Linked DNA regions of Homo sapiens: regions 1 and 3 are each linked to region 2. Evidence: promoter capture Hi-C in human tissues and cell types (Jung and others, 2019). All regions are on one chromosome and are shown on one strand. Each heading gives the region's core, a stretch centred on a gene start or on the middle of the fragment in contact. The rest is flanking DNA. Distances are from core to core; before and after follow the strand shown.

Evidence for each region. The method cuts DNA at HindIII sites, captures the fragments that hold promoters and counts their contacts. A contact is called where the count stands out against the background at its distance.
Region 1: a contact is called between a fragment that was not itself captured here and the fragment with the promoter of UBE2N in region 2, in 1 of the 25 tissues and cell types used here (ovary).
Region 3: a fragment that was not itself captured here is called in contact with the fragment with the promoter of UBE2N in region 2 in 1 of the 25 tissues and cell types used here (stomach).

The regions. Positions count from the first base shown.
Region 1 is chr12:94,820,701-94,823,501 of GRCh38, reverse strand. No RefSeq gene overlaps it. Among named protein-coding and RNA genes, the nearest start is that of MIR492, 12 kb to the left of the region's middle. The HindIII fragment of the contact is 3,239 bases long and covers 1-2,801 here.
Region 2 is chr12:93,440,156-93,443,266 of GRCh38, reverse strand. It overlaps UBE2N (ubiquitin conjugating enzyme E2 N), which reads left to right and starts at 1,320. Exons shown (of 4, transcript NM_003348.4): 1 at 1,320-1,412. The coding sequence starts at 1,383. RefSeq lists silencers at 915-1,374, 1,455-1,664, 1,815-1,954, 1,985-2,104 and an enhancer at 785-1,422. The HindIII fragment of the contact is 20,755 bases long and covers 1-3,111 here.
Region 3 is chr12:95,232,348-95,235,401 of GRCh38, reverse strand. The region is part of intron 1 of VEZT (vezatin, adherens junctions transmembrane protein); the gene reads right to left. Among named protein-coding and RNA genes, the nearest start is that of VEZT, 16 kb to the right of the region's middle. The HindIII fragment of the contact is 9,678 bases long and covers 1-3,054 here.

The DNA of each region.
Region 1 (2,801 bases), core at 39-2,538, 1.4 Mb before region 2:
CAGGGACCCACTTGAGGAGGCAGTCTGTCCGTTCTCACATCTCAAACTCCGTGCTGGGAGAACCACTACTCTCTTCAATGCTGTCAGACAGGGACGTGTAAGTCTGCAGAAGTTTCTGCTGCTTTTTGTTCAGCTATGCCCTGCCCCCAGAGGTGGTGTCTACAGTGGCAGGCAGGCCTCCTTGAGCTGCAGTGGGCTCCACCCAGTTCGAGTTTCTGGGCCGCTTTGTTTACCTACTCAGGCTTAAGCAATGGCAGATGCCCCTCCCCTAGCCTTGCTGCTACCTTGCAGTTCGATCTTAGACTGCTGTGCTGGCAGTGAGCAAGGCTCCGTGGGCTTGGGACCCTCCGAGCCAGGCGTGGGATAAAATCTCCTGGTGTGCTGTTTGCTAAGACCATTGGAAAAGCGCAGTATTAGGGTGGGAGTGTCCCGATTTTCCAGGTGCTATCTGTCACGGCTTCCCTTGGCTAGGAAAGGGAATTCCCCGACCCTTTGTGTTTCCCGGGTGAAGCGATGCCCCGCCCTGCTTCACCTAACACTCCCTGGGCTGCACCCACTGTCTGACAAGCCCCAGTGAAATGAACCCGGTACCTCAGATGGAAGTGCAGAAATCATCTGTCTTCTGGGTCACTTACGCTGAGAGCTGTAGACTGGAGCTGTTCCTATTCGGCCATCTTGGAACCCACTCAGCTGTTTATATATTTTCTTTGGTGAAATGTCCATTCAATTTTTGGCCTATTTTTATTTTTATTTATTTATTTATTTATTTTTAAGGTGAAGTCTTGCTCTGTCACCTAGGTGGGAGTGCAGTGGCACAGTCTTGGCTCACTGCAACCTCTGCCTCCTAGGTTCAAGCGATTCTCCTGCCCCAGACTCCCAAGTAGCTGGGATTACAGGCATGCTCTACCATGCTTGGCTAATTTGTGTATTTTTAGTAGAAACGGAGTTTCACTATGTTGATCAGGCTGGTCTTGAACTCCTGACCTCAGGTGATCTGCCTGCCTTGGCCTCTCAAAGTTCAGGGATTACAGGCGTGAGCCACCACACCCGGCCTGGCCTATTTTTAAATTGAGTTCCTTGTCTTATTATTGAGTTGTGAGAGTTCTTTATATATTCTGGATATAAGTGCCTTATCAGATATCATTTATAAATATTTTCACCCATCTGTGGCTTGCATTTCATTTTCCTTTTCTTTCACTGGTAAATATGTAGAGTAATTAATTAATTTTCTTAATGGTGACTTTTGAAGAGAGCTTTTAATTCTGAAGTCCAGTTAATCAATTTTTTCTTTTATAGTTTGTGTTTGGCCTTTGCCTCTTAGCACCCAAATATTCCTGTCTCTTTGGTTTATTCTTAGTTTAGATGTCCCAATTTTTACTCTTTCATTCTCCCTGGATCTACATTTATTCCTGTTTGAGGACAGAAGGCAAAGCCCAGCCTCCAAGTTCTCTTGCTAATACACTGTGTTGGGCACCTTCCTGGAATTGTGTGTTCAGGCCTTTGGTAACTATGCAGGCCTTTGGTAACTTTGGCTACCAAATCTTGAGATAGAAGGTGAAATTAGACCTTCCTCAGCAATTTACAATTGAAGTCAGATAAGAAAAATGACTGCTTTATATGCAAATTTTTCTTTTTTAAAAAATTAGTTGAGTGCTTCTCTACTTATTGATAAACATCAATAATTATAAAAATATCCCTTACATTGCTTTAAAGGTTTTCAGAGTTAATTTACCTTTATCTTCTCATTTAGGTCCTTTTGCAGATAAGAAATACAAGAGTTTAAGTAGAATAAAAGGGTATTTAACACAAATTAGTTAATATTGGAGACACAAGTATTATTTGATCATTTTTTCCAGAGTCTACCAAGAATTTATTTATTTATTTATTTTGAGATGGAGTCTTGCTCTGTCGCCAGGCTGGAGTGCAGTGGTGCGATCTCAGCTCACTGCAACCTCCGACTCCCTGGTTCAAGCAATTCTCCTGCCTCAGCCTCCCAAGTAGCTGGGATTACAGGCACATGCCACCACACCCAGCTAATTTTTGTATTTTTTTTTAGAGACAAGGTTTCACCATGTTGGCCAGGATGGTTTCGATCTCCTGACCTTGTGATTCGCCTGCCTCGGCCTCCCAAAGTGCTGGGATTACAGGCGTGAGCCACTGCGCCTCGCCCCAAGAATATTTACCATTCACCATGCAAAAATGAGTGGGAGGAGAGGGTAGCACTGGGCTCTGTCTACTAATCTGATGAAGCTCAGCTATAGTCAGAACCATAGAATTGCAGATTCTTGATGCTGAAAGGGGCCTTGAAACTTCAGAGTGCATCCCTTCACCCACCAGAGGAATCCTTAGATTGCTCTTGTTGGTTGATAATCTTCTGGCTCCCAGGCACTTTCAAAAAGAAAGCTTAAAACTTTTCAAGCCCGTGGGATCAATTCTTGGATAATTTTAAGTATTGGAAAATCATTTTATGTATGGAGCCTAACTTAGCCTCCCCTGTAAATTTCACCCGTTGGTGACACAAAACAACTAGTGCCATTCTTTATTGGCAGCTCTTCAAATATCGAAGAGTACCTTAAACCATCACTTCCATGGTTGCCACCTGTTCTATCAACTATTTTGTGTTTAATTTGGATTCCAGACTTACAGCTGTGATAGTCACTTCTTGCTAGATGCAATTCCGATTGTCTATATCTTTTGTGCCTAAATCAAACCTACACATCAGATATGGCCTGGCTGGGAGAGTTTTGTGAGCCTGTTAGCTCCTTTGCTCTGGGTGAGGGCTGCCCAGTGGTGTTAGTTAC
Region 2 (3,111 bases), core at 71-2,570:
ATACTCTTCCCTACAAGGTCAGGTAGGTTCTTACTCATCATTGAGGACTTCACTTATTTAAGAAGGCTTCCCTGAGTTCTCAAGCAGTTAATGCCTCTCTGCTAAAATAGCACCTTGGAGGAACCTGTATTACAGACAGCCCTTAACACATTGGATTGTAACTAATTGTTTACTGGTCTCTCTTCTCCATTGGAATCTAAGTTCCTGGAAGGCACGGTCAGTCTTGTCTTCATTTATTCACCATCTACTGTCTGTTAGTGTGCTAGGAAACACTGTGGTTAAGTAGTTAAGGGCCAGGTCTTGGCGGATCTGCCTGGGGACAAAACAGCTCCTTGGAAAAGGTTAACTATCTAAGCCTCATTTGTAAAATGGAAACAACACCTCCTCACGATTGCTGTGAAGATGAAGTAAAGTGCTTGCAAACAGTCCATCACACAGCAAACCATCCGTCATCAGGATAAAACGCTTCCCCAACAATTCAATTTTCGGGCACCCCCACTCTAATTCTCTCATAGGACCTCGCACTCTATAGGTAATCTCTGCTTTACGGATTACTCTGGGTTCTTTAAACCTCTCCTTGGTCATTCGTCCTGTTAACAATTCTGAGTCTCAACCTTTAGGTCTAGGCGTTCAGAACCATTCTTCCCGCCTCCAACTCGCTCCAAACCCTTTTCCTTCAGCCTACCCTGGGCCTAGGGGCGTGTCAGAGGTCCGATTTATACAATTTAAACATCAAAACTCCCCCAACAGCGTGTGAGTAACTGGAGAGACCCCCAGTCAGAGCTTTGCCACCGAGTTTCGGTCTTGCCCTCCCTTTGAGGAAGGAGCAAGACGATGAGCCCCACCTCAGTCGTTCACTGCAGAGCCAGCAGGGAACGCGCGCAATGCAGGCTGAGCTGAAAGAACGAACGCGTGAGCTGAAAGAACGAACGCGTGAATGAATGAATGGGATACGTCGTAGGCCAGGCCTCTGTTACGTCGTCCACCGGCGCGGGCGTGGCCACGGTTAAGAGAGACGCGCGCGCAGTCGCGCGCGGGTCGTGCCGTACCACCGTCGCGGGCAGGCTCGGCCACGAGCGCCAGAGCCCCGCGCCTCCCCTCGCGGCCTGTCCCAAGTCCCTGCCCCGCAACAGAGCGTCACTTCCGCCATCCCCGGCAGCGGTTGGGGCGGGGCGCACGGGGGAGGGGGCCAGGTCGGAGGGAAGCCCGCCCGTGCCCGAGCCCGCGCCCGAGCAGGGACTACATTTCCCGAGGGGCCTCGGCGGCGGCTGCGGCGACGGGCGCGGCAACGTCCCCCGGAAGTGGAGCCCGGGACTTCCACTCGTGCGTGAGGCGAGAGGAGCCGGAGACGAGACCAGAGGCCGAACTCGGGTTCTGACAAGATGGCCGGGCTGCCCCGCAGGATCATCAAGGTAACCGCCCAGGCCGGCCTCCAGCTCTTCGCTCTGCTCTCGTCGGCTCAGCTGGGCAGGCAGCGCGGCCTCTCGCCTCCTTCGGCCCGCGGCCCGCTCTGGGAGGCCCGAGGCGGCGCGGAGAGGGGTTGGCCGCGGCGGCGAGGGAAGTCGGGTGCTGAGGAGGGGGCGCCGGGGAGACTTCCGGCCGCGGCGGGGCAGCCGGACAGCGGGGACCCGGGGCTTCCAGGCGGCTGCCCGGCGGGCCAGGGAGTGCTGTCCCACGCCCCGGCGGAGGGTGGGGCGGCAAGGCTGGGGGTCTCTGGGCTTGGGCGCGGGCCTCCATAGCTTCTGAGACCACCCCCCCGCCGGAGGCCGCGGGCGCGCGGGAATCGCGGCGGGGCTCGGGCGCCTGGTGGGGATTGTGGCCCGACAAGGTCCCTCGGCAGCCAAGCCCCTCTTCTCCGCCCCGACGGGGCCGCGGAGGTGCGGCAACCGCGGGTGCAGAATGAATGAACCGGGAGGGTCAGGCCGGGCGGGGCCCTGCGCCCCGGGAAGTGGCTCTGGGAGGCCCGCGCGTCCTGCCGCGGTCAGCACATGCTCGCCCCTGGTTGCCGCGGCTGCCTGGGTCCCGGGACGTGGGGGCCCCGCGCCCCGCTGCCCTTGCTTCCGCGATCTCTCTCTTCTGAATACGTTTCCGCTCGTTTATCTCTGCGAAGTGATTTTACTCTGGTTGGCAAACTCTTTCAGAGCTGTTCCGAGGAAATAGTTTTAACACAAGGCTGGGGGAGGGCCGCAGTTATGGGGGATTCTCTTTCTCTCTCCTCTTCTCTCCTCTCCTCTCTTTTTCGTAGATATGAGGCCTCGCTATAGTGCCCAGGCGGCTTCCAAAACTCCTGGCTTCAGAGATCTTCCTACCTTGGCCTCTGTGGGGGATCTCGTGAAATCTTTTGCCCCTCAATTTTGTGCGTTTTAATTATTAATTGGCTGTTTATGAATACTGTGTTTTGACAAGTATGTATGGAACCATGACATTTTCGATTCTTTGATTTTGTAAAGTCTTAAGGAAATATCGACAAGTCTTCAGACGTGAGATATTCCTTGTCATCACAACAACTAAACCTTAAATTTTTGTGTCGGTTTTTATGAAGGAAATTAGTTGCACATTTATGTGACTAAATGCGCCAGTTAAAGTGACTCAATTGCAGCATCATTTTGCTTGATATAACCTGGTGAACGTGTATGTTAATCTTGCTCATTCTTGTGAAATCTGTGGGGAGATGCATACTAAGTGGAAGACCTGTTAGGCTTCGAGGATGATGTACTGTATACTGCTTCATCCAATTGCATTTAAATATATCTGAGATGAGGGAGATGTCACTGACCTAAGGGTGCTGATGTAGAGAAATAAGACGTTTTTGTATGGTAGAAATTCTTAGAAATGAGAGAAGTAGAACAGATTGTCAGGGAGCACTGGAGTCTAATAATGTGAATCTTCATAGTCCGAAATTTGTTGTGTGTGGATTTATCTAGGATTCTGTCCAAGGAGTTTTAATTGTCATATGTATTGGCAGGTCCGTACAACGTGGTTTTAGTTATAATGCAGTCACATGGTCCCCAAAGGTCATGTTTATTGAGGCCCCAGTTGAAAAATGAATAGGGAGTGATAGAGCCATACATCAAATATCCTTGTTTTCGTTGTTACTTAGGTTATTGACTA
Region 3 (3,054 bases), core at 23-2,522, 1.8 Mb before region 2:
CAGCCGCCCCGTCCGGGAGGTGAGGGGCGCCTCTGCCCGGCCGCCCCTACTGGGAAGTGAGGAGCCCCTCTGCCCGGCCAGCCGCCCCGTCCGGGAGGGAGGTGGGTGGGGGTCAGCCCCCGCCCGGCCAGCCGCCCTGTCCGGGAGGTGAGGGGCGCCTCTGCCCGGCCGCCCCTACTGGGAAGTGAGGAGCCCCTCTGCCCGGCCACCACCCCGTCTGGGAGGTGTACCCAACAGCTCGTTGAGAACGGGCCATGATGACAATGGCGGTTTTGTGGAATAGAAAGGGGGGAAAGGTGGGGAAAAGATTGAGAAATCGGATGGTTGCCGTGTCTGTGTAGAAAGAGGTAGACATGGGAGACTTTTCATTTTGTTCTGTACTAAGAAAAATTCTTCTGCCTTGGGATCCTGTTGATCTGTGACCTTACCCCCAACCCTGTGCTCTCTGAAACATGTGCTGTGTCCACTCAGGGTTGAATGGATTAAGGGCGGTGCAAGATGTGCTTTGTTAAACAGATGCTTGAAGGCAGCATGCTCCTTAAGAGTCATTACCACTCCCTAATCTCAAGCACCCAGGGACACAAACACTGCGGAAGGCCGCAGGGTCCTCTGCCTAGGAAAACCAGAGACCTTTGTTCACTTGTTTATCTGCTGACCTTCCCTCCACTACTGTCCTGTGACCCTGCCAAATCACACCCAAGAATGATCAATTAAAAAATAAATAAATAAATAAATAAAAAACAAAAAAAACAAAACTACTTTCAAAACTAGCTTAATGTGTTTTAAAAACAACTCACTGAAAATGGAAGCCTGGCGCGGTGGCTCATGTCTGTAATCCCAGCACTTTCGGAGGCTGAGGCGGGCAAATCACCTGGGGTTAGGTGTTCAAGACCCAGCCTGACCACCATGGAGAAACCCTGCCTCTACTAAAAAAATACAAAAAAATTAGCCGGGGGTGGTGGCGCATGCCTGTAATCCCAGCTACTCGGCAGGCTGAGGCAGGAGAATCGCTTGAACCCGGCCGGCGGGGAGGTTGCGGTGAGCCCAGATCGCGCCATTGCACTCTAGCCTGGGGGCCAAGAGCGAAACTCTGTCTCAAAAAAAAAAAAAAAAAAAAGATTATTGATAGAAAATTTGGCTAACATGATGCAACAGTTTTTTAATTTACAATAAGGCCACATAAACCAGTAATAATATTTTTTTAAATTGTAGAAATGGGTAAAGGATATAAAGAAGCAGTTCAAAGAAAAAAATACAAATGGGTCAATATGAATGAAAACATGTTAAACTTCACCTTTGAAGAAATGCAAATTGAAACAAAGACACAATTTTTACCTATTAGTTGGCAATAATTAAGAAGTCTGAGAATACTCAGTTTTGGCAACGTTGGAATACAGATACATCATACACTATTAGTGGGAGTATAGGTATAAAAATATAAATGCAAATATCCGTTGACCTAGCAATTTTACCACTAAGCTTCCAGTCTATGAATACAATTATAAAAGTATGCCAAATATACATACAAGAATATCGACTAGTACTAGCCATTTAAAAACCCCATTTGTGTTTTAAAAAACCCACAAAATGGAATTATACAATATATTTATGTATGTCACACACATATATATATATACACATACACATATAGATGAATGTAATTGCGCTGAGAATAATCTGAAAGAAAATATACCAACATTGGCCAGGCACAGTGGCTCACACCTATAATCTCAGCACTTTGGGAGGCCGAGGTGGGGGGATCACTTGAGGCCAGGAGTTTGAGACCAGCCTGGCCAACATGGTGAAACCTTGTGTGTACTAAAAATACAAAAAAATTAGCCAGGCGTGGTGGCACACACCTGTAGTCCCAGCTACTTGGGAGGCTGAGGTGGGAGAATCACTTGAACCTGGGAGGCGGAGGTTGCAGTGAGCCAAGATTGTGCCACTGCACTCCAGCCTCGGCAAGAGAGTGAGACTCTGTCTCAAAAAACATAAAAAATAAAAATAAAAAATAATTTAAAAAAGAAAATATACGAAAGTGATTACAGTGGTACTTCTGTGGAGAAAGGTGGACCTGCAAAGGAAAAGGGGGATTAAGGGAGAGCTGATCCTTTCCCTGTATTATGTGAATGTTTTACAATGAGAACATATTCATGTGTTATCTGTGTGGAAAAACATAGTTAAGGTCTGCTAAGAAAAAAAAAAGAAAAAGAAAAAAGAAGGTACCTAATTACATGAGAATTTAGTAAATGAATAAAATGAGCCAATACACTTTCCCATATAAAAACTAACAATGGGGTGGATGCAGTGGCTCACCCCTATAATCCCAGCACTTTGGGAGGTCAAGCCATGCAGATCACTTGAGCCAAGGAATTTGAGACCAGTCTGAGCAACATGGCAAAACCCTGTCTCCACAAAAAATACAAAAATTAGTCAAACATGGTGGTACACACCTGTGCTCTTAGCAACTCAGGAGGCTGAGGCAGGAGGACCGCTTGAGCTTGGGAAGTAGAGGATGCAGTGAGCCGAGATTGCGTCACTGCACTCCAGCCTGGGCGACAGAGTGAGACTCTGTCTCAAAAAACCCAAAAAACAAAACAAACGAACAAAAAAACCCAAACCAAACCAACCCAAAAACTAATGCTCTACTTCAACTATTATACATTCCTTTATTTAAAATGTCAGTATGATATCTAAACCACACTATCAGGTTTGGCAAAATGCTAACTATTGTCAGATGTCAGATGTCATTTGGGCCATGCAGTCCATATTAAACACAAAAAGCAACAAGAAAACACAGGCACACTAGCTACTAACAGAGAAGAGAGTATGAGGCACAAAGCATTGGCACAAAAGCCCGAAACTGTGTAATGTTTGAGAAGTAATTTTGTTAACACAGACTTCCCACCTATATGAATCTGTGCTTATTCTGGTTCAAAGGATCAAAAAGCCTTTGATTTCCATTCCCAAGTTACAGAATTCACCAAGTTATACGTAACTTTTCCTCAAGTTTGTACCAACTTGTAATTTCTCTGGAAAAAAAGTGTTCTCTAC